7 separate regions of the Homo sapiens genome follow, and all the other regions are linked to region 3. The links are contacts of gene promoters, found by promoter capture Hi-C in blood cells and fetal thymus (Javierre and others, 2016). All regions are on one chromosome and are shown on one strand. Each heading gives the region's core, a stretch centred on a gene start or on the middle of the fragment in contact. The rest is flanking DNA. Distances are from core to core; before and after follow the strand shown.

Region 1 (3,088 bases), core at 494-2,993, 480 kb before region 3:
CAGGGCATCACTCTCTGTAGCTGTGGCTCACACTGTCCTCAGAGCCCTCTCTGGTCCAGGATCATCCCTGCTATCCCTTTTCCAGCTGGAGCCCTCTGTAGCTCTGGTGCTTTCCATTACACACAGGCAGGTCATTGCCCAGCCTCAAGATTCTGCAGCCTCCTCTGCCCTTTGGAGGCCAGGACCCTCTGGCTCTAATACTTAGAAAGAGAACAAGCTGTCCTACATTCACATCACTCCTAGCACAGGCCCCAGGATTATCCTCCTTCCAGGATGATCGACATGGAAATATCTAGTCCCTTCAGGTGTGTGCTTGGTATTGTTGGAAATAAAAGCTCGGAGTCACAGAGAAAATGAGCACTCAAATAAAGGATTTTTTCAGCAAGGCAAATTTACTTCTGGAGAAGGGTCTCGCTTGCCCTTCTGGCCACTGCAAGAGCACACTGAACAAAGGAGGGAAGGGGTTTTTATCCCTGACCCAGTCAGTCCCTGATGCTGTGTCCGGGCCCCATTGGCTGGAGTTGGACTGCGCAGTCTAAGCTGATCCTGATTGGCTACTTCAAATGGAGCAGGGGTGGGGGCTACAGCAGCGGGAAGAGCAGTTTTGGCCAAATAAGGTACAGATGTGGGTTGTTTCAGATTGTGAATGGATGTGGGTTACAGACTGGGAATGGATGTGAGTTACAGATTGGGAACGGCTGGAAGGTTGTTTACTGTAACTAGGGGCAAGGAGGCAGAACAGTTAGGCTTTGAAAATAGAGGACAAAGAATGAGAGAATTGAACAAGCGGAACCTTTGAAAAGGAACTCACTGTATCCAACAGTGTTATGGACCCAACAAGATCATCTCAATAGTTTGACAATTCATTTCCCCCAAGTTGGTGTGTTTCAGGCTTAGATAAAACGGTGCTTTGAACATCAACAGGTGAAATCTTTTGTTAAAAAACATAGTCTAGTTCATCCAGCCCTCCTCCTCTCCCTGTTACTCCTCTTCCTCCTTCTAGTCTTTCCTCCAGTGTGAAGTGAAGGAAATATTAGGACTTGGTGTTGCCCCTACCATGGTCTGCTTTAATGTCCTGTGAACTTGGACAAGAATACACATACCCGCATCACCATCTTCCAAGAACACACGATAGCCAAAGGTCACAGTCAATTTACATCGGTTACAACAGAACGCATCTCTCACTCTGAGTATTCTCATTTGATCTTAACTGCATTTAAATCTCAGTAAAGAACAATGACTTGTTCCTGCTTTATAGGCCTAAAACACCCACCAATAAGGTCCTCTTAGAAACCAGGCAAGGCACACCCAGGTCTCTATGCTAAACGGAGGAAGTCATGCATAACTTTTCAGAGACCCTTTTTACTTTGAAAACATTTCAAACTTACAGGAAAATGTCAAGAGTTGTACAGTGAACTCCCATATAACCTTAACCTACATTCACCAATTATTAACATTTACTATTGTTTTATCTTTTAATTGTGTTTGCTGATTATTGGGAGTAAGTTGCAGATATGATAACATTTACTTCTTTTTTTTTTTTTTCCCCTGAGATGGAAGCTTGCTCTGTTGCCCAGGCTGGAGTGCAGTGGCACGATTGTCAGCTCACTACAACCTCTGCCTCCTGGGTTCAAGCGTTTCTCCTGCCTCAGCCTCTCTAGTAGCTGGGATTACAGGTGCCTGCCACCATGCCTGGCTAATTTTTGTATTTTTGTAGAGATGGGGTTTTGCCATGTTGGCCAGGCTGGTCTCGAACTCCTGACCTCAGGTGATCTGCACCCCCCCCCCCCTTGGCATCCCGAAGTGCTGGCATTACAGGCATGAGCCATCACAACTGGCCCATAACATTTACTTCTAAGAACTTTGGCAGTATCTACTAAGAATCAGGATGTTTTCTTATATGCCACTGTACAATGATAAAATTCAGGAAGCTTAAAACATTGATGCAATACTACTATCCAATTACATGTAACTTTTAAAATGACATTTTCATCTTGTTGTTTAGATTTATTAGGATTATAAAAATATAATACAGAAATATGTAGGGGGAAAAATAAAAATGTTCTTTTGACTTTCTGCACCATCAGATCTACTTCCCAGGAATAACCAATGTTACATGAATGTTTCAGTGTTCCACGAAAAAAAAAACACAGTTTTACATGAACACAGTTACTTTTCTATGTGCCAAATATATAGGATCTAAGTTTTTTAGGAGTGAATTTTTTTCCTCTTAAAATATTTTGCAGATCCCTCCATGTTAGTACATATGGATCTAAGTCGTTCTTTCTTCTCTTTTTGTAATTGTTGAGTTTTTCATAGTTTGGATCTACTATAATTTATTTGATTAGTCAAATTTGATGGAAATCTAGCTGGCTTTCATTTGCATTTTCCTGTTACCAGCCACATGGTGATAACCAACTTCGTACACAAGTGTATCTTATCACACACATGTGAGTACCTCCAAGGGACAGAGTCCCAGAAAAGGAATTTCTGGGTTGAAGAGATCACACATATAAAAATTTGGGTTCAGAAATGTGCTTCATGCCTGTAATCCCAGCACTTTGGGAAGCCAAGGTGGGCGGATCACGAGGTCAGGAGATTGAGACCATCCTGGCTAACATGATGAAACCCCATCTCTACTAAAAATACAAAAAGAAATTACCCGGGCATGGTGGCGGGTGCCTGTAGTCCCAGCTACTCGGGAGGTTGAGGCAGGGGAATGGCGTGAACCCGGGAGGCGGAGGTTACAGTGAGCCGAGATTGCGCCACTACACTCCAGCCTGGGCGACAGAGTGAGACTCCGTCTCAAAAAAAAAAAGAAAAAAAAGAAATATGCTTCTCTTGAGAGTTCATTATTTTTGTCTTTCAACCACGGCATCAAGCAACTAGACTCATGCATCTTTTATTTGTCTTCTGGGAGGTTTTCAAGTCAGAGGTTTGGCCCATCTCTTAAAAATGTACATGCCAAGTTCAATCTTAAAGCACATGATATGTCTACAGTGTTAACTCCTGGTTTCATCTTATTTTCTCCCTACTCTTGTTTTAATTTTGCTTGCTGTACATACTAAGGTAATAACATTTTAATTTT
Region 2 (2,845 bases), core at 187-2,686, 410 kb before region 3:
AGCTTTCTCCTGCCCAATTCAGCAATATCTACAAGATGCCCCCGCTGTCTTGTGTTAGAATATCAGGTGAAATGTATCTGAGCACATGGGATTCCTTCTAACAGTTGTTCAATGAAGAGCGTTGGCTCTGGGATGATGGACACAGGGAATCTCCCCCATCCTCAGCACGTCTCAGGAGTCTCTGCTGAAATTTGGGTCTTGTTTGGTCGAAAGAGAAAACCGTGCCTGGAGTAGCTGTGGAATAAGGGAGAACCGTCTTGGCCCTGGAGGCAGAGAGGCCTGGGGCTGGATCTCAGCTCCACCATGGACTAACCTCACAGCTTGGGCAAACGGCCTTCCTCTTTGAATGAGCTTCCCAAGCTGTGAAATGGAGGTCACAATGCCTGCCTCAGGGAGAGGTTGTGCAGGTTCAGCGAGGTGATAGGTCCTCCACTTCTGTTATATCCAAGACATTCAAACAATTATAATAACACACTATGATGTAACACTATTCAAATAATTATTAACCCCATGCAAGTTCAATTTTTATGATGTGGCAAGATGCATTGCCCCCTCCATTATAATGAGTAGGGGTGTGTGTTTGTGTGTGTGTGAGAGAGAGAGAGAGAGAGAGAGAGAGAGAGAGAAAGAGAGAGAGAGAGATTTGAAACAAACACGCCAGTCAGAGTTGGTGCCATGCCCTCAGAGAGGGTGTCATTCACAGTGGGAATGCAGAGTCAAATGTTTCTTAGCACAACAATGTGCTGGAATAGTTTCTCTTAAAGGACAAGGTCAATGTTGTCTTAACAGGAGGAATAACCTTTTCTCATGTGGGAAACATTATGACTTGCTCTGATGTGGTGTCTTTGGGCCTTACGTAAACTCTGAATGAGGATTCCAGGCCACGCTTTCTCCTCGCTCCTGGGAGCAGAGCCCGCACCCTCCTCTTTGGTTGGTTATTTTATTTTAAAATAACTGTTTCAGTTTAGAATAGTTTTAGATGTATAGGAAAGTTGCAAGAATATTACAGAGAGTTCCCGTATACCCCACACCCAGTTTCTCCCATACACACCTTCTACTTTGTGACTCAGCAAGGATGGAGTTGGGGAGAGCCTGTGCTGGCACCCAGCGGGAGCATCTTAACAAAACAGAAGGACCCAATGGGTCACCAAAGGAAGGGATAGAAGCTGGAAAGAAGCAAGGGTGGAAGAGAAGGTGTAGAGAAGACCCCAACCGCGGGTGCAGGAGGCAGCGACAGTTACTGAATTTCCCAAATTTTTAGCAAACTTCCCTCCCTCAGCCTGTACCACGAGCAATCAAAAACACACTTGGAACAGAACAGAGGGACTTTGCCACACCTGGAGTATATTTCGTATTATTTCCAGAGCAGGTGGTGTAGGAAATACCTATTGCCAAATAAGAAATGCTACAGACAGATCAAGTCAAAGTGCATAAGGAAAAGAACCGTTTTAAATGCTGAAATCTCAGAGGTAGTTAATACTTCTCAGAGGAAGAAAAGTGAGTTATTTGTAACTCACTTTTCACGGTCCTGATTTTGAGGTGTGTGTCTGCCATAAAAACATGCTAGTCTTTAGGGGGGCAAGCTCTGCTGTCTTGAGCTCTTTCTTCTTAGACTCTCAGAACAAATATGTAGATGTAATGTTTTTACTTAAGATTACACATATTGGCCAGGCGTGGTGGCTCATGCCTGTAATCCCAGCACTTTGGGAGGCCAAGGCGGACGGATCATGAGGTCAGGAGATCGAGGCCATCCTGGCTAACAAGGTGAAACCCCGTTTCTACTAAAAATACAAAAAAATTAGCCAGGCGTGGTGGCGGGCACCTGTAGTCCCAGCTACTCAGGAGGCTGAGGCAGGAGAATGGTGTGAACCCAGGAGGTGGAGCTTGCAGTGAGCCAAGATCGTGCCACTGCACTCCAGCCTGGGTGACAGAGCAACACTCCGTCTCAACAACAACAACAAAAAAAGATTGCACATATTTTCCATGTATTATTGTATGGACATGGCTTTAGGGTTCCTCTCCCAAACCATAGCAGACTCTGGAGAGAGGGTGGGGAGATCTCAAATTTTTCTGGGGCTGGATGATTGGGCACGTGGGTTGGTGGCTTTGCAGAGGGAACCTGTTGCTTCAGTGACGTGGGGCAGATGGCTCAGCGGTGGATGGCGGAGCAAGGTGATTGCTGGCTGCCATCTCTTGAATGATCCTGGCATGAGCTCCTCCTGTTCCTCCTGGGATTGCTATGGAAACCCAGACTGAGTTGTTGTCTCTGTGTCGGGGCTTTCCTGGGTGTTTTTCCTCCTGGCCTCAACGCTTACAAATCATTCTTTCCTGTGTGCAGATCAGGTGATTCTCCCAGGCCCTGTCTGGGCAGGGTGACTGACAAGTCAATTTGGTCAGACAATTGCTTGGGCTGATTTTTCCATTGCACTGAGCTCCTTGTTTTGGCTCCTGGTAAACTGGGTTTGATCTGGGGCTGGGAGGTGGAGGTTGGGGATCAGGAAGGGAGGGAGGGGATGCCATGTGAGCCTTCTCTTTCTCAGGGGAGCCTGAGAGGGAACGGTGAGAATCCACAGTCCCCAGGTCTGAAGCAGGGAGCTGGGCTGTGTCGAGATTGGGGATGGAGGTATCATTCCCACTTTAAAGATGAAGACATTGAGTTCAGGGAGTTGAGCTGCTTTACCCAAAGCCACATGACTTACGTGGCAGAACCTGGACTCTACCTGAGGGCCTGGTGGGGAGCACGGTGTCCTTTTCGCTGCTTAAGTGGAGGGAGAACTGAAAGAAGCCTTTGCCTGATGTTCTGTGTCTCCTTTTTGTGATGGGGAAGGATTTTGGCTACTGTTTT
Region 3 (3,050 bases), core at 239-2,738:
ATGGTGCAGACTCTGTTCTAATTCTGCACTTGGCCAGACATAGCTATGCAAACTGCAGCGAGTCTCTTCCCGCTCTGGGCGCCACCTGACTGACCCGCGTAAGGAGGGACTGTGACTGGTCCCCAGGCAAACGCTTTCCCTGCCACCTGCACCTGTTGCAAGCCAGCTCCTCGGAGCCAGGCCAAGCAGCTCTGCCCCTAGCGGGAGTCGGAGGCATGAAACTCCCTTTTAGGAAGACGGAGTAAGAGGCACCACCACCTGCTCCTGCTGCCTCTGCTGTCCTCAGCTTCTGGGAGCATCTTAGCAGCCAGCTCCGGGTGAGGACAGGGTCCACCGGTGCACATGGCAGAGCAGGGCAGATGCTGTGACTTGGCGGCTTTGGGGGAACAGGGTGGGGCTCCTCCCTGGGAAAAATCTTTAGGTTTGGATCCAGCCTTTATTTAAAGAGGGGGATTGTGTATAGACTTGTGTGACTGTTCAGCCTCTTTCCACCTCGGTGCGTGTGTGTGTGTGTGTGTGTGTGTGTGTGTGTGTGTGTGAGAGAGAGAGAGAGAGAGAGAGCCTGTGGGTCAATGCCCAGTATGCCCCTCTGAGAGTGTGTCTGTTAGTAGACACCAGTGTGTGACATTGCTTCTGTGGGCAACTATGTCAAGGCGTGGGTTTGTCACTGTGTGCGGTGTGGAGCAGTATGATAAGCCGGCGGCCGACCCCCGAGTGTGTAGACGCGGGAGCTGGTGTCAGGGTATTTGTAGGGCTGCAATTCTGTGTAGGTCTGTCTCAGATTGTGTGAGAGTGTCTGTGTTCCAGCAGGTGCTTGTTTCTGAGTGTGAATGTGTGTGAAGCTGTGACCGTCTGTCTCTAGCTCTGCATGGGACGGTGATCCGGTGTGTGTGTGTGTGTGTGTGTGTGTGCGTGCGTGTGTGGTGTGTGTGTGTATTAGAGTGCACTCTAAACTGTGTGGCTGTGTGTGTACGTGTGCGTGCCTGTCACAGTGGCCCAGTCTGCTTCTGGGTGAGTGGGGCAGAGCCCAGAGAGTGTGTGTGTGAGTGTGGGTGTCGGTGTCTCTGGGAAGCAGTGATTCGGGATGTGTGTGTCAGGCAGTGTGCGGCTGTCGCTGTGAGTCTGCATGGGAGAGTGGCGGCGTGCTCTCCTCTGCGCGGCAGTGCCCCGTGTGTTTGTGGGTCTGTGTCTGGGTGTGAGCGTCATGGTGCGTGTGTTAGAGCCCGTGGGGCCCCGGTGAAAGGCTGTGGCTCTGGGTGACTGGTGTGTGTGTGTGTGTGTGTGTGTATCAGAGTGGGTGGCGGCGTCTCTGCTCGGCAGTGGCGCGTGTGGCCCGCCCCGCGCGCGTGTTCTCGCGGGCCGGGGCAGGGCGTGGGCCCCCTCCGGCGGAGCCGCGACCCCTCCCCCGGGCGGCGGGAGGTGCGCACCGGCGCCTCTAGGACCCGGCGGCGGCCGGCCGCTGTCCCCGGGCCGCGCGAGTGAGCATGTGCAGAGCCCGGCGCCCGCTCGCCCGCCCGCTGCCCGCCCCGGCTCCGCGCCCGCCCGCCCGCCCCGCCGTTCAGCCCGGACGCCAGCAGCCCCGGGGAGCCAGGCGGCGGCGCCCTGTGCCCGGGCGCGTGGGTCCGCTTGCCGCGGGCGGCCGGAGACGTGCGGGCGCCGGGGCTTCTGGGCTCCGGGCACTGCGGGGGGCTGCGGGCTCGGCGCCCGGGGAAGGCGGGCCATGGGCGCGGGTGCGGGCGCCCCAGCCGGCCGCGATCGCGGGGTGAGTCCTGTCTCTCGGCGCTCCAGCCGGACCCCCGCGCGGGCTGCGAGCAGGGTGTTCCCCTTGCCGCGGGCAAACAAGTTTGTGCAGACGCGGTTGGGAGCGCGGCGGGGCTGCACCTGCTCCGGCTGCAGGGCGGGCTTGCCGGGGGCACCTTCCCGGGGGCCCGGGGCGGCTCGGCCGGGGCAGGGGAGAGTGAGCGGGTGCGTGCAGGGGTTGTGGGGGGGCGGGGGCGGCGCTCGGCGCGGCCGGGATGGGGTGGGGGTGCGCGAGGCGCCGCACGAGCCGCGTCCCCCTCCGGAGTCCTGAGAGCCCGTCCGTCACCCGGGAGGGCGCTGCGGTTGGTCCCGGGGAGGGGGCGAGGGCAGGGTGTGGGGTGCGCACAGCTTCCCTCCTAGGCGGCGACGTTTACCCAGAAGCAGCTCCCTCTCGTTCCGCTACCAAGAGAGGCTTCCGGTCAGCGGAGGGTTTGCTCCGTCTCTTGGTGAACTTGAACAGAGGCAGAGGCAAAAGCAAAACGTATGTATTTTGTCCAGAAAATTACCTAGTGTAGAGCTTTGCGTCTTCGTAGGTGTGGACGGAGACTCACGACTGAAGGTTGCTAAATTGCGTTTTTCTTGGCTACTCAGGAGCGTACGTACCTGGCTGGGTCCCCTGCCTCCGGGTAACCTCGCTGGTGGTTTTCCTGAGCATTTGTGCGCCTGGGATGATGCCTGCTCTGCTGATCGGGAATGCGGGTGGGGAAGGGGACCGCTCTTCCTTCCGCTGAGCAGTGGGAAGGCTCATATAGGAGTTCTAGCCTCATAGCCCTGCACTGGGATCCAGCTGCTCCCCACACTGGCCCTGCCCCTGCAGCTCCCAAGATGGACAGATGCAGGACTCCGCTGTACTTTTCTAACATGAGATACCCGCATCCCTCTTGTTGCTGGAACAGCATGCTTAGGTTTATGGAGGCACTTGGTTTATCCCACTTTGGCATCAGGAGTGGGGGCCTTTCTTTTTTCCTCTGATTTGCCTAGGTTGTCAGGCACAGAAAGTGAGGGTGGTGGGGAGTGAAAGTTACAGGAGATATAAAGCTGGCTTGCCCTGCGCTGTTTGCAATCACCCACTCCTGGTGGCTGCAGGTGCTGGGGAGAGAGCTAGGGGAGGTTTCCTTGGGCTATGGGAGAATGAGGTTTGTCTCTCTCAATCATGCCCCCACCCCCACACACTTAGATTGGCCCTCAGGAGATCCTCCGGGAAGGGGCCTCAACCGGCTGCCAGAGCTCAGGGTTTCTAGGAGGAAGAG
Region 4 (3,057 bases), core at 205-2,704, 460 kb before region 3:
TTGGATTAGACTAATTAGAGGCCATCCAAAACACCTGAGTGCTGCACGGTAGGCATGGGTGTATCAGTTAGCTTTTTTTCGCTTCTTTTTGTTTTTTGAGATGGAGTCTTGCTCTGTTACCCAGGCTGGAGTGCAGTGGCATGATCTTGGCTTACTGCAACCCCCGCCTCTTGGGTTCAAGCGATTCTCCTGCCTCAGCCTCCCAAGTAGCTGGGATTATAGGTTCCTGCCACCACGTCTGGCTGATTTTTCTAATTTTAGTAGAGACAGGGTTTCACCATGTTGGCCAGGCTGGTCTTGAACTCCTAACCCCAGGTGATCCACCCACCTTGGCCTCCCAAAGTGCTAGGATTAAGGCATGAGCCACTGTGCCCGGCCTCAGTTAGCTTTTGTTGTGTAACAAACCACCTAAATTTTAGTTGCTTAAACTATCATTTGTTTATTACGTTCAGATTTTGTAGGTGAACAATTTGGGCTGTGTTTAGCAGGATGGTTCTTCTGTTGGGCCTAAATCTCTCCTGCATTTTTGGTCAGCTCATAGGTCAGCTCGGGTTGTGGGGTTTATGACATCTTTGCTGAGATGGCTGGGATGACTGGAGCCGCTCTTCCTCTGATTGTCTGAGGGTTCCAAGAGCCACAAGAGAGAACAAGCCCCAGGGCACAAACACTTTCCAAATATCTTCTTGCCACACATTGCTATTGTCCCATTGGCTGAAGCAAGTCACACAGCAAGTACTGAATCAGGTAAGGGGAAGATAAGGGGATGGAGAAAGGGCTGGGTGTGGTGGCTCACACCTGTAATCCCAGCACTTGGGGGGCCGAGGTGGGCAGATCACTTGAGGCCAGGAGTTTGAGACCAGACTGGGCAATACAGCAAAATCCCATCTCTAAAAAAAAAAAAAAATACAAAAACTAGCTGGGTGTGGTGGCAGGCACCTGTAGTCCTAGCTACCAAGGAGGCCGAGGTGGGAGGATCACCTGAGCCTGGGAGGTTGAGGCTGCAGTGAGCTGTGATTGTACCTGTGTATTCCAGTATGCGTGACAGAGTGAGACCCTGTCTCAAAAAAAAAAAAAAAAAAAAAGAAAGAGTGAACAAAGTTGGAGCCATAAACACAATAATCTACCCCAGTGAGGAGAGCTAACATTGGGAGAGAGCCACTGTTTCTACCCTAAGATGCAAATGGAAAGAGTGGTTCTAGAGAAGATGTGGAATGCAGAAGACTCTGATTCCAATACAACAGGAGCCACAGGGCACACTGTGTTGGAAGAAGTGTTTGGGCACAGTATATATCTGGAGAGGAGATGGCAGAGAGAGAAGTTTGCACTTAGGACCGAAAGTAAGGATGGAGGGAACAGTTCAACCTGGAAACAGTGCCAGGCTTTGGACTAGGAATGCTGCCTGCTCCATCTTATTTGGTCCCTACAGCTGCAGGTGAGAAAATGGGCTCAGAGAGGTTAAGCAACATGCCCAAGGTCAAGGTCACACAGTGAGAAAGTGCGGATTTAAGCCCAATTGTCTGTGGATCTCAGGTGTGAAGGAAACAGGATTTGGCTGACGATGGCAGTGAAGGAGGGGGAGGGGAATGGGGTAAAGGAGTGCTGAAGTGCAGAGATCTGTGGCCCCAGCTCACCCCAATGTTGAGCAGAGTGAGCCTGGACCAAGACGCCTCTTTGCCAGCATGGAGTTCTGGACTGCAAGCTCCTGGGGCATGGACCTCATTCCTGTTCTAGTCCTCCTGCCCACAGCATCTAGCAGAGTTCTGAGACTCGGCACTGAGGGGCACATCCCATGTGCCCGGTGGTTTACTGCCGCTGTCTCACTTAGCCCTCCTAACAGCACGGATGTGGCATATGCCACTATTATCCCCATTCTACACATGAGACAACCACGGCCTGGAGAACTAAGACACGTCTTTGTGTTTGCAGACTTAGTGAGTAGAGAAGCCAGGGCTTAAAGATGGGGCCGTGGAGCCCAAAGTTCATGCTCTGAAGTGCTGGCTAGGCTGCCTCAGGGAGGAAGCAGTGCACCAAAGGGAAGGGTGGCAGGAGGGGGAGAGCCTGGATATGGAAACCCTCACGGTGAGGGGTTTGACACGTCACCATTGAAAACATGTGAGGACTTATTACTACTCTCCAGGATTGGACTAAGTGTTTTCTTTTCTTTTTTTTTGAGACGGAGTTTTGCTCTTGTTGCCCAGACTGGAGTGTAATGGCGCGATCTCAGCTCACCGCAACCTCCGCCTCCTGGGTTCAAGTGATTCTCCTGCCTCAGCCTCTTCAGTAGCTGGGATTACAGGCATGCGCCACCATGCCCGGCTAATTTTGTATTTTTAGTGAAGATGGGGTTTCACCATGTTGGTCAGGCTGGTCTCGAACTCCTGACTTCAGGTGATCTGCCTGCCTCAGCCTCCCGAAGTGTTGGGATTACAGGCGTGAGCCACCGCACCTGGCCTGGATTAAGTGTTTTCTATATCTTATTTAATCCTCAAAAATTACGTGGGGGCTGGGCACTGTGGCTCAGCCCTGAAATCCTAGCACTTTGGGAGGCCAACACGGGAAGATCACTTGAGGCCAGGAGTTAGAGACCAGCCTGGGAAACATGGGGAGACCCCCTGTTTCTATAAAAGGTAGAGAAAATTAGCCAGGTATGGTGGCATGTGTCTGTGGTCCTGGCTACTCAGAAGGCTGAGGTTGGAATATTGCTTAAGCCTAGGAGTTTGAGGCTGCAGTGAAGTATGATCATGCCACTGCACTACAGTCTGGGTGAAAGAACAAGACCCTGTTTCAAGAAAAAAAAAAAGTACTTGAGGATACATATTACTTGTTTGCCCATTTGAGAGGTGAGAAAACTGAGGATCAGTGAGGTGAGCTCACTTGCCAAAAACCACACTACTACTAAGAAGAGGCAAAGCTGCAGGCAAATCTGGTCAGGGCTAACCTCAAAGCCCACGCTTAACCACTGCACCACCCAGCACTTTGCTATCCAACACTGAGTGCTTCAGCCTTGCACTATCCGGGCCCATGCTGGGTGCAAGACAAGGCTGCAAAGGCAGATAT
Region 5 (3,227 bases), core at 19-2,518, 390 kb before region 3:
ATGCAATTTGGTGTTTTAAAAGCCATTACCTGGAGGTCATTTCCACATGACAATGGAGGGCTGGTAGTGTTTCTTGGGGATGGCAGACAAAAAAGCATATCAGGGAAGGAAATAGCTTTGCAAGGCAAGAAGTAGCAGAGAGGCAACCCAGGTGCTTTCCATTTGTGTGGTGAGCCCTCAAGTTCTGATGGGGACCATCTGGAGCCGTGCTTTACAACTTAGCTGGCAGAGGAGGGTGTGCAGGAAATGGCCAGGGTAATGAATCAGGACAAGCCAATGTCAAATGCTTAAAGCTCTGCTGCCAGTTCAGAGGAAAAAGCCCAGGGAAGATGAATGAAAATGAAGTCATTTTCACCTTCCTGTAGTCTCATATAGAGCTCTTTGCTCGAGCCTAAATCGAACATGCTTTTTGTCTTTTTGCATAAAGGGAAGGAAGGAAATTTCATGCTTCAACAAGAGCTTCAACAGAAGTTGATGCTCTTCATTGCCTAAAGGGATGCTAGCCTGTTCTGAGCACCTGTTCTTGACGAGTATTAATGAGCCTAATAATAACAACAACTGTTACTATTAGGCATCAGTTACGTGATGACTTTGTGCCAGGCATTGTGTTAAGGGTTTCACAACTGCTAGTTAATATAATCCGTAAAATAACTCTACGGGTAAAAGCTGTCTTATCATTCCCATTTTGTAGATGAGAAACTGGGGCATAGGGAGATTAAGTAACTTGCTCGAGGTCACTCCCAGAACACCCATATCTAACTCTGAAGCCTGTATGCAGAGTTATATTTCCTCTTCGTTCATTCAGTCAGTCAATATGATGAGGGCCTTTCTGTTCTTTAGCCATGAGCTGTGTCCCTCAGACATTTTCTGAACATTACAGACACAGTCTCTGGCTTCCTGGGGCTGAGAGCTCAACAGTAAATTTCAGTACTGGGTGAGCCATTGTATGAGTGGGCAAAGGCAGACAGCTGTGAGAACACCTTCGTTCATTCACTCACAGGTATTTATTTGAGTGTCTACTATGTGAAAGGCTTTGCTGGGTTCTAGGACACTGGGGTCAGCAAAATACCCACAGACTTTGCTTTAATGGAGTTTTTAGTTCATATTATAGAAGCCCATACAGACTGAGACAGGAAATTGGTACGGAGAAGTGGGGGTGCTGCTGTATCAAATACCTAAAACTGTGGAAGCAGCTTTGGAATAGGGTAATGTGGAAAGGCTAGAAGAGTTTTAAGGTGCATGCTAGAGAAAGCCTACATTGCTGTGAAGAGACTATTAAGAGTGATTCTGGTAAGAGCTTAGAAAGAAAAGAGGGGAGCTGTAGGGAAAGTCTCAGTCTTCTTAGAGAATACCTAAGTAATCAAGAATGCTGGTAGAAATATGGATGGTGTCTAAGCCCATTCTGTGCTGCTACAATAAAATGCCAGAGTAACTTATGAAGAAAAGAGAATTTCTCACAGTTCTGGAAGCTGGGAAGTTCAATATCAAGGTGCTGACATCTGGCAAGGGCCTTCTTGCCGTGTCGTCCCATGGTGAAAGATGACAGAGAGAGAGAGAGAGAGAGAGAAGAAAGGGCCAAATTAATCCTTTTATGAGGAACTCACTTCCAGGATAATAAAAGTCCTCTAATCCATTCATGAGGGCAGTGGTCCCATAGCCCAAACACCTCCCATTAGCCTCCACTTCCCAGCACTACTGCATTGAAGATCAAATTTTCAACACACGAACTTTGGGGAACACTTTCAAACCATAGCAGATGGTAAAGGCCATTCTGATGAGGCATCAGATGGAAATGAGGAAGATGTTATTGAACAATGGAGGAAAGGTCATCCTTTTTACAAAGTGGCAAGGAAGTTAGTTGAATTGTGTTTGTGTCTTAGTAGTTTGTAGAAGGTAGAACTTGTGAGTAATGAAATTGGATATTTGGCTGAGGAAATATCTAAGTAAAGTGTTGAAAGAGCAGCTTGGCTTCTCTTGACTTCTTATAGTAAAATGAAAAAAGAGAGAAATGACTTAAAGATGGAATTCTTAATCAGAAAGAAAGCCAAACTTAAAGATTTGGAAACTTCTCAGCCTTTCCATATTGTAAAGAATGAAAAGGTCTGTTCCTAAAGAACTTTAAGGGTGTGGCCCAATGGCCACATCTTACATGGAGTTTTGTCAGCCATCTGAACAGAAGCCAGGGGCTATTGTTCAAGACGATGGAAGAATGAACCCCTTCCATAGCAAGGTGCTCCAGAGATCATCAGAACAACTTCATAGGACGGGCTGCAGGTGCCTGCTGGACCCCTGCAGGCTTTGTGTAGCATCCCTCATATCACAGGCTCCACTCCACTGCATTCCAGGGTTTTGCTGCTTGGCTGCCCATCCAGAAAGCACAGGCAGCAGACTTTGGCTGTGTCTGCGTGGTGCTCAGAGTGCATGAGCTGTGGGGGCAAGCCTACCTTCACCTAGATTTCTAAGAATGGAGCCACCTGAAGTCATGGGTGTGCCACCCAGGCAGAAAACTATAGAGGGCCGCTGGTAGGGCAATGCCTAGTAGTACCAAGGTGGAAAGGTCACCCTGAGACCCCAGAACAGTAGAGGCATCAGTGTGTGATTCCAGCACTGGAAAGCCACAGGCACGCAACTCCAACCTGTGAGAGCTGTGGCAGGGGTTGTATCCAGCAAAGCTGTGAGGGCAGCTTTAGAAGTTGGGTGCCCAACTTCTACCCTGCAAGCCTTTAGGGATGAGACTTCCACACCAGTGGGCCCGGAGGGCAGAGCATTGAGCCAAAGAAGATTTTTCTCAAGCCTAAGGTTTTGGACTTGCTTGGGACCTGTCACTCTTTCCTTCTTCACTATTTCTCCCTTTTGGAATGGGAATGTCTGTCCTGTGCCCAAACCACCATTGTATTTTGTAAGCATTTAACTTTGATTTCACAGACTCAGAGAAGGAGGGGAATTTGCCTCAGGATGAATTGGACCTTGAGTTTCACCCATATCTAATTTAGATGATATTCGAATGAGACTTTGGACTTTAGGTTTTGAATTGATGTTGGTATGAGTTAAAACTTTTAGGGTTATTGGGATGGAATGAAGATATTTTGCATGTAAGAAGGACATGAATTTCGGGGGTCCAGAGGCATAATCAAATGGTTTGAATGTTTTTATCCCCTCAAAATTAATATGTTGAAATTATAACCCCCGAAGGTGATGGTATTAGGAAGTGGTGACTTTGGGAGGTG
Region 6 (3,178 bases), core at 158-2,657, 350 kb after region 3:
ACAAGGGTCCTTATAAGAGGGAGACAGGAGGGTCAGGGACCCGCAGAAGCCTCATGGTGACGGAAGCAGAGGGACGCAGAGTGGAAGATGCTCCATTGCTGCCTTTGAAGGGGCCACAAGGCAAGGAATACAGGCAGCCTCTAAAAGCTGAAATAGGCAGGAAAGAAAATGGACTCTCTCCTCCGGCCTCTGGAAAGAACACAGCCCTGCCTGCCAACCCGTTTTAGAATCCCTGACCTCTGGAACTATAAGAGAATACGTGTGTGTTGTTTTAAGCCATTAAGTTTGTGGTAATTTGCTGCATCCACCATGGGAAACTATTGCCCCTGCACAATACCCGAGGAAGGGGGTGTCCCTCGGGCCACTCAGCCCCTTACTGCTGACCCAAAGGACTCCCTGGTCTCAGGGTGTCTGTCAACTCCAGAGGTCAGTATGGTGGCTCCTGCCTGGGAGCAAATGCCTTGGTTTGGTTAACTAGTAATGATTCCTGAGGACGTGCCAGGCCAAAGGGGGCTTCAAAACCCACACAAGGTCGTTTCGTGCTGACCCTTCCAACTGCTCCCAAACAAAGGCTATTGGCATTGCCGCAGGTTGCTGCCTGATAGAAGTTTCACATTCTCTCCTTTTTTAAAAAAAAATGCATCATACCCACATACGAAGCATCCAGTGAAGGAGGCAGCACAGTATAGAAAAGAAAAGAAAAGAAAAAAAAGAAAAGAAAAGAAAAGAAAAGAAAAGAAAAGAAAAGAAAAGAAAAGAAAGCCCCAGCCCAGACTCCTGGAAACCTGATGCTAATCCTGGAGCTACTGCCCCTCTCTAAGCCTCAGTTTCCCCATCTGTACAAGGGGTTGGGACTGAGTTGCCTCCAAGGACCTAGTTTGCTGGCAGCCTCATTCCATAGTTCTAAATGCCTCCTTTCCTGTCATCAGCTTGCCTGACCTTGTGACCTGCAGCGTCAGGGATGGTCAGGGCTGATGGAGAACCGCCACATCCGGAGCCCAAAGCGGCCATCTCCTACCCTGGGGACCCGTCTGCTTGGTCTCTGCTGCCACCTGCTGGCAACTTGAAAACAAAGCCTTCCGGCTGGATCTCCGGGAAAGAAGCCCTTGGAAGAGAGGCCCTGCAAACTATTGCAACTGCCCGCCCAGACCTGACCAGCCACGCCCTTCCTTTAGGTTGGTTTTCAGGGAGCAGAAGGAAGCCCATGCAGCAACCAGAGCCCTGGATGGGAGGCTGCCTGCATCTCTCCCCATGTCTGCCTCCCGCCTCCTCTGCACTAGGAAGATGGGGTGTGGGATGCGGCAGTTTCTGAACAGTGGTTCTACTGGCCCAGCCTCTGCCTTCAGAGGATTGTAACAATAGGACAAGGGTCCCTGTGCACCCTCTCTCCAGGGTATCTCCACCACATGCTATGGGCTTCCTGGTCCCTATCCCCTTTTTCCTGTTTTCAGACATCCAGAGGCATCAGAAGGGGAGCTGTCCACACGGGATGAGCCGGACAGGACCAAGCCCGAGCATAGGCTGCATTCGGGCCTCTGTCCAGCCAGGGAGCCCACAGGCCACGTTCTCACCACAAATGAGGGGGGCACCCTCGCTGCTCGTTGTCCCCAAAAGAAAGGGTAGCTGGTAGGATAGCTACATTCAGACAATGGACAGGGCAAAGGAGACTGGGAAGTCTGCGAGCCACAGTCCCTGGCCCCGAAGTAATGCCCCTTGCCAGGCCCCTCATCTGTTTCTGAGCCACACTCGACTCTGGCTGCCCAGACAACATCCAGGCCTTTCCCCGTAGGCAGCGCTGCCAGGAGGCAGCAGTGAAGGTCCCCTTGGCTCTCTGGCCCCAGCCTCCCTCCCTGTTCCACCTTCTGCAGTTCGAGGCACTCGCTTTGGCCTCAGGACACACCTGCCTTGCTCCCTCTGCAGGCCATAACATCCCCTTCCTCTGACCTCTTCTAAAATCTCCTCTCTCACGTGGTTCCTTCATACTATGGCCCACTGGACTACTGAGCCTAATCATCCAAAAATTGAAACCCCTTTTCTTCAAGGGTGGGAAGGCTTACACATCAAACCTTCTAGTACTGCAAGAAAAAAGGAAGAAGAGGCCGGGCGCGGTGGCTCACGCCTGTAATCCCAACACTTTGGGAGGCCGAGGTGGGCAGATCACCAGAGGTCAGGAGTTCGAGAGCAGCTGGCCAACATGGTGAAACCCCGTCTCTACTAAAAATACAAAAAATTAGCCAGGCACAGTGGCACACACCTGTAATCCCAGCTACTCAGGAGGCTGAGGCACGAGAATTGCTTGAACCTGGGAGGTGGAGGTTGGAGGTTGCAGTGAGCCGAGATCAAGCCAGTGCATTCCAGCCTGGGCAACAGAGTGAGACTCCATCTCAAAAAAAAAATGAAAAAGAAAAAAGGAAGAGGAGAAGAGAAGAAAAACATAAAACACTGCCATGTTAAAATGTACATTATCACTCCAGATGCCAGAAATATCCTCATTCTGGTGTCCCAGGGGTCACGAAATTGGAACCACAGAGAAAGCAATGCAGTGGAAGCATTGCGCTGGGCCCTGTGGGGAAACACACCTACACAGCCACAATCATGCAAATGCTGTTTATTGATTTTCAGATTGTAGAATCAACCTATGGACAAAGCACAGAAGATTTAGTTTTGCTTACAGAGCAGAAGGTAGATGTTAACAACAAGGAAGATGGAAAAGTAAAGTACATCAGAACTTTAGGGATACAGTTAGCGCTGGGGGAACCCCTGCTGGGTGGAGACAAGCTCTGGGGCAGAAGAGAAGCCCAGGAAGCCCTTGGCAGTTGACTACGTGGCCCTGGGCTGGATACTTCGTCGCCCCCCTGCCCCACCCCACACACCTGGGTGGTGCTAGAGGATGTCGCTGGCGTGATAGCCCCTCCTCGTACCCGTCCTTTAGGGAGGACGAAGAGGAGGGAGAGAGTTGGAAGGGGAAGGTCCCAACGCTGCCATGCTCATCAGACACAGAAGGAGGTCACCAGACTGAGGCAGGCGGTGGAGCTTGGACACCAGACTAACTTGAAGATGAGCTAAAACAGGGGCGAGTGGAAGCGGCTTTCCCTAAGGCATGACCCCCAGGGTGCCATGTCAGTTTACCATTGCCGTGGCAACACCCTGGCATACTGCCCTGTTCCGTGGCAAAGAC
Region 7 (2,885 bases), core at 269-2,768, 440 kb before region 3:
AGTGCTTCAGAAGAAGTTGTCTGCAGCGTAATGGATGCTCCGTCATCAACAGTGTTCCAATATTCTCTCCGGAGAAGCTAACGACGCTGACAAAATACATTGAACTGCTGTTCTCTTCCACACATTCAAATAAAAGGCAGTGTATCTTGATGCAGGGCACATCAGTGGGTGATGGCAAAACATTATTTTTTCTTTATGAATAATAGAAGACATTTGGCTTGCTCATAATCTTTTAAAAACCGTAGTCATAGTAACATGTGTCTTGCCCATTAATATGAGATTTTTTTTCTTCTTAAAGACAACAGCCTGTTTTACAGTGTGTTCTTAGTCCCCCAACAGAGCAGTATCCATTCGATTTGCAACTTGACCGAAGCCAGTTATAAAAAGGAAAGATTGTCTCTGCCACCAGCGAGATTCTTAGCTATTACCCCTGTGGGGTGACAGAAGAGCTAGATTCATTTTGGTCAAAAATTGTAGTTTAGAACAAAAGAGCAAAGTCTCTGATGAAAAGAATGATCAGTGATTGTGCCCAAGTTGGGGGAATGGTCTGCCTACATGTGCTCTTTTCCAAAGGAAAGAACTCAAGTTTCAGGAGAAGTGACCAAAATAGAAAAATAATTCCAAGTGTGCCCAAACCCAAGGGGTCCTTGCCTCTAGCATCAAGGTGGCCCCGACCGGTGCTTGTGGTGGTTACATAAAGGGGTATTACATAAACATGGGGCACGTGTTCTGTTTTTGTAATTGATGCACTTCAATAGGGGAATGGGAATTTCGTAAAAGCAAGCAGGAAAATGTGGATGTTCCATATTAGAAGGTTGAAGAAAGTGAAGTTGATTAGATTGGAGAGGGCAGCAGATGGCTCTCAGGAGACACGATGACCAGTTTTAAATATCTGAGAGTCTATTGGGGGTGAAGGGATTTGACTTGTTTTGTGTGTCCCTGAGGGAAAGAACTGATGGCTATGAATGAGAGGACACCATTAGGGAGGCATATTTCGGGTGAGTGTAAGGAAGAGCTTTCTCCTCATTGTTGCTGTCCAGATAAAGGATAGAAGGCATGAGTACTTATGGTGCCTTGGGTCAGGTTCCCTGGCACATAGCTCTGAGATGAATCTCCAAATGCACAAAGTTTATCAGGAAGTGCCTCCATGATCAATATCTGGTAAAGGAAGCATGACTAGGCAGAGGAAGGAGTTGAGCTATGACAAAACTGCAAAAGAGCTTCAGCTACTCCCCTGGGGAGCCCTGGAGTGGAGGCGGCCCTTTGGCATGGTCCTGAATTGAGGCTGGAGAGTCAGCCCTTTGGAACCTTTCACTGACCAATCATCGGATGCAGCTGTCCCCCAGGGAAGTAGGAGGAGGGATTGTGGATGAGGCTGCTCTTCAGTAGAGGGCAATTCCAGGAGAGCAACTCAGCTGGGAGTCATCAGCCACCAACATTTCCAGGAGCTGGAGGGATGAGTGCCTTTGTCCTAAAGGAGGATCTGGGCAGCATCCCACAGCATCCATTAGAGATGGCTGCTTAATGGAGATGCTGTGACACCCTGCCCCTTGTGTGACTTCTCATGATCCAGTGTTCACATTCTCTAACGAAATACCATAAAGTCCAGATAAGACTCAGTTTATTGACTGTTTCCCCATGGGGCCTCCAGTGTGGATCCTGGATGGAGTCAGAGGCACATCTCCCTTAGTTTCTAGCTTAAAGCTCTTGGCTCCTGGGCAGCATCCGACCAATACTCCTTGGTTCCAGGAAGAAGAGTTCATTCATTCAAATTTCATTCAGTAATATTAATTGAGTGCCTTCTTTTAGGAGTTAGAAATACAACTATGAAGAAGATAAAGTCCTATGCCTGCTGGGACTTATATTCTCGTGGGAGAGCTAGAAAACAATACACAAATAAAATAATCCTGGTAAGGAGAGGTGGAGTGATCATGTGTGTATGTGATGTTTGTATTGGGAATTCAGGGAAGGCCTCCTTGGGGAGTGACACTGCAGCAGATTTGAATGATATGAAGTAGTGATGTCTGAAGATCTGGGGAATAGGGTTCCAGGCAAGAGGAACAGCAAGTGTGAAAGTCTTGAGGTAAGGACAGCCTTGGTGTTTTCATGCTTCTTTTAACTAAGTAGAGTATGGGAAGATGAACCTCAGTTTTTAGGGAGAACCTGCCTTAGTAAAGAGGCAGCTGCATTAGGGGATGTAAAAGGCATTTTCGATGTTAGTAGCCAAAAACCACGCATGGTTCTCAGGAGAGAAGACCCCAGTTCTGTTGCAGAGTGCTTCCTTGGCAGTGGAAACCCAGCTGACATGATTTGTTTCCTCATTTGAAAAATCAAGATGATTTTAGTACCCACTCTGTAGGGCTGTTGTGAGGATCAAAGACTGTGATGTGTGGAGGTACTTAACTTAGAGCCTGGCTCATAATAAGTGCTTGATACATGTTAGCTTTTATTTGTGCTGTATAACTCAAGAGAGCTAAAGAGCTGGGGCTTGAATCTAGGGTTTAAATTCTATCAAAGTCCTTGTTCTATGCAATGTTGCTGTTTCTTTCTCTCTTAGTTTGAGTCTCTGTATGTCTGCTTGTGTGTCTTTCTTTGTGTCTATCTCTATGACTCCTGTACTCCATCTCTGCTTATCTGTCTGTCTCTGTTCTTCACTCCTCTCTCTCTCTCTCCCTCTCTGGCTTTCACTCTGTCTGTTCTTCCTTTCTCTGTTCTCTCTCTCTGCTTCCTTTCTTCCTACCAGACTGAGAGCCCCACTGTCTTCTATAGGCCCAAGAGCAGGCAACTCTCCACGGTGCTGACGAGGTGTGTAGGTCCCAGACTTCCATCTCTCATTAGGGAACAGAAATGGATGGCAGTGATTTTCCTCCAGCAGCCAGTCAGCA

What was found. The method cuts DNA at HindIII sites, captures the fragments that hold promoters and counts their contacts. A CHiCAGO score of 5 or more calls a contact.
Region 1: a contact is called between a fragment that was not itself captured here and the fragment with the promoter of WSCD1 in region 3, in 1 of 17 cell types (endothelial precursors). The highest score is 8.0, in endothelial precursors.
Region 2: a fragment that was not itself captured here is called in contact with the fragment with the promoter of WSCD1 in region 3 in 2 of 17 cell types (M0 macrophages and naive CD8 T cells); the score reaches 6.7 in M0 macrophages.
Region 4: a fragment that was not itself captured here is called in contact with the fragment with the promoter of WSCD1 in region 3 in 3 of 17 cell types (endothelial precursors, total CD8 T cells and M1 macrophages); the score reaches 8.2 in endothelial precursors.
Region 5: a fragment that was not itself captured here is called in contact with the fragment with the promoter of WSCD1 in region 3 in 3 of 17 cell types (endothelial precursors, M0 macrophages and naive B cells); the score reaches 6.5 in endothelial precursors.
Region 6: a fragment that was not itself captured here is called in contact with the fragment with the promoter of WSCD1 in region 3 in 2 of 17 cell types (endothelial precursors and M0 macrophages); the score reaches 10.0 in endothelial precursors.
Region 7: a contact is called between a fragment that was not itself captured here and the fragment with the promoter of WSCD1 in region 3, in 4 of 17 cell types (endothelial precursors, M2 macrophages, naive CD8 T cells and 1 more). The highest score is 7.0, in endothelial precursors.

The regions. Positions count from the first base shown.
Region 1 is chr17:5,588,276-5,591,363 of GRCh38, forward strand. No RefSeq gene overlaps it. Among named protein-coding and RNA genes, the nearest start is that of NLRP1, 5.3 kb to the left of the region's middle. The HindIII fragment of the contact is 371 bases long and covers 1,559-1,929 here.
Region 2 is chr17:5,655,218-5,658,062 of GRCh38, forward strand. No RefSeq gene overlaps it. Among named protein-coding and RNA genes, the nearest start is that of NLRP1, 72 kb to the left of the region's middle. The HindIII fragment of the contact is 3,094 bases long and covers 1-2,845 here.
Region 3 is chr17:6,068,891-6,071,940 of GRCh38, forward strand. WSCD1 (WSC domain containing 1) reads left to right here and starts at 1,489. Exons shown (of 9, transcript NM_015253.2): 1 at 1,489-1,762. RefSeq lists an enhancer at 725-1,556. The HindIII fragment of the contact is 6,207 bases long and covers 1-3,050 here.
Region 4 is chr17:5,605,169-5,608,225 of GRCh38, forward strand. No RefSeq gene overlaps it. Among named protein-coding and RNA genes, the nearest start is that of NLRP1, 22 kb to the left of the region's middle. The HindIII fragment of the contact is 3,240 bases long and covers 1-3,057 here.
Region 5 is chr17:5,676,012-5,679,238 of GRCh38, forward strand. No RefSeq gene overlaps it. Among named protein-coding and RNA genes, the nearest start is that of NLRP1, 93 kb to the left of the region's middle. The HindIII fragment of the contact is 4,030 bases long and covers 1-3,227 here.
Region 6 is chr17:6,421,146-6,424,323 of GRCh38, forward strand. It overlaps AIPL1 (AIP like 1 HSP90 co-chaperone), which reads right to left. Exons shown (of 6, transcript NM_014336.5): 6 at 2,593-3,178. Among named protein-coding and RNA genes, the nearest start is that of AIPL1, 12 kb to the right of the region's middle. The HindIII fragment of the contact is 7,641 bases long and covers 1-3,178 here.
Region 7 is chr17:5,629,366-5,632,250 of GRCh38, forward strand. No RefSeq gene overlaps it. Among named protein-coding and RNA genes, the nearest start is that of NLRP1, 46 kb to the left of the region's middle. The HindIII fragment of the contact is 3,470 bases long and covers 1-2,885 here.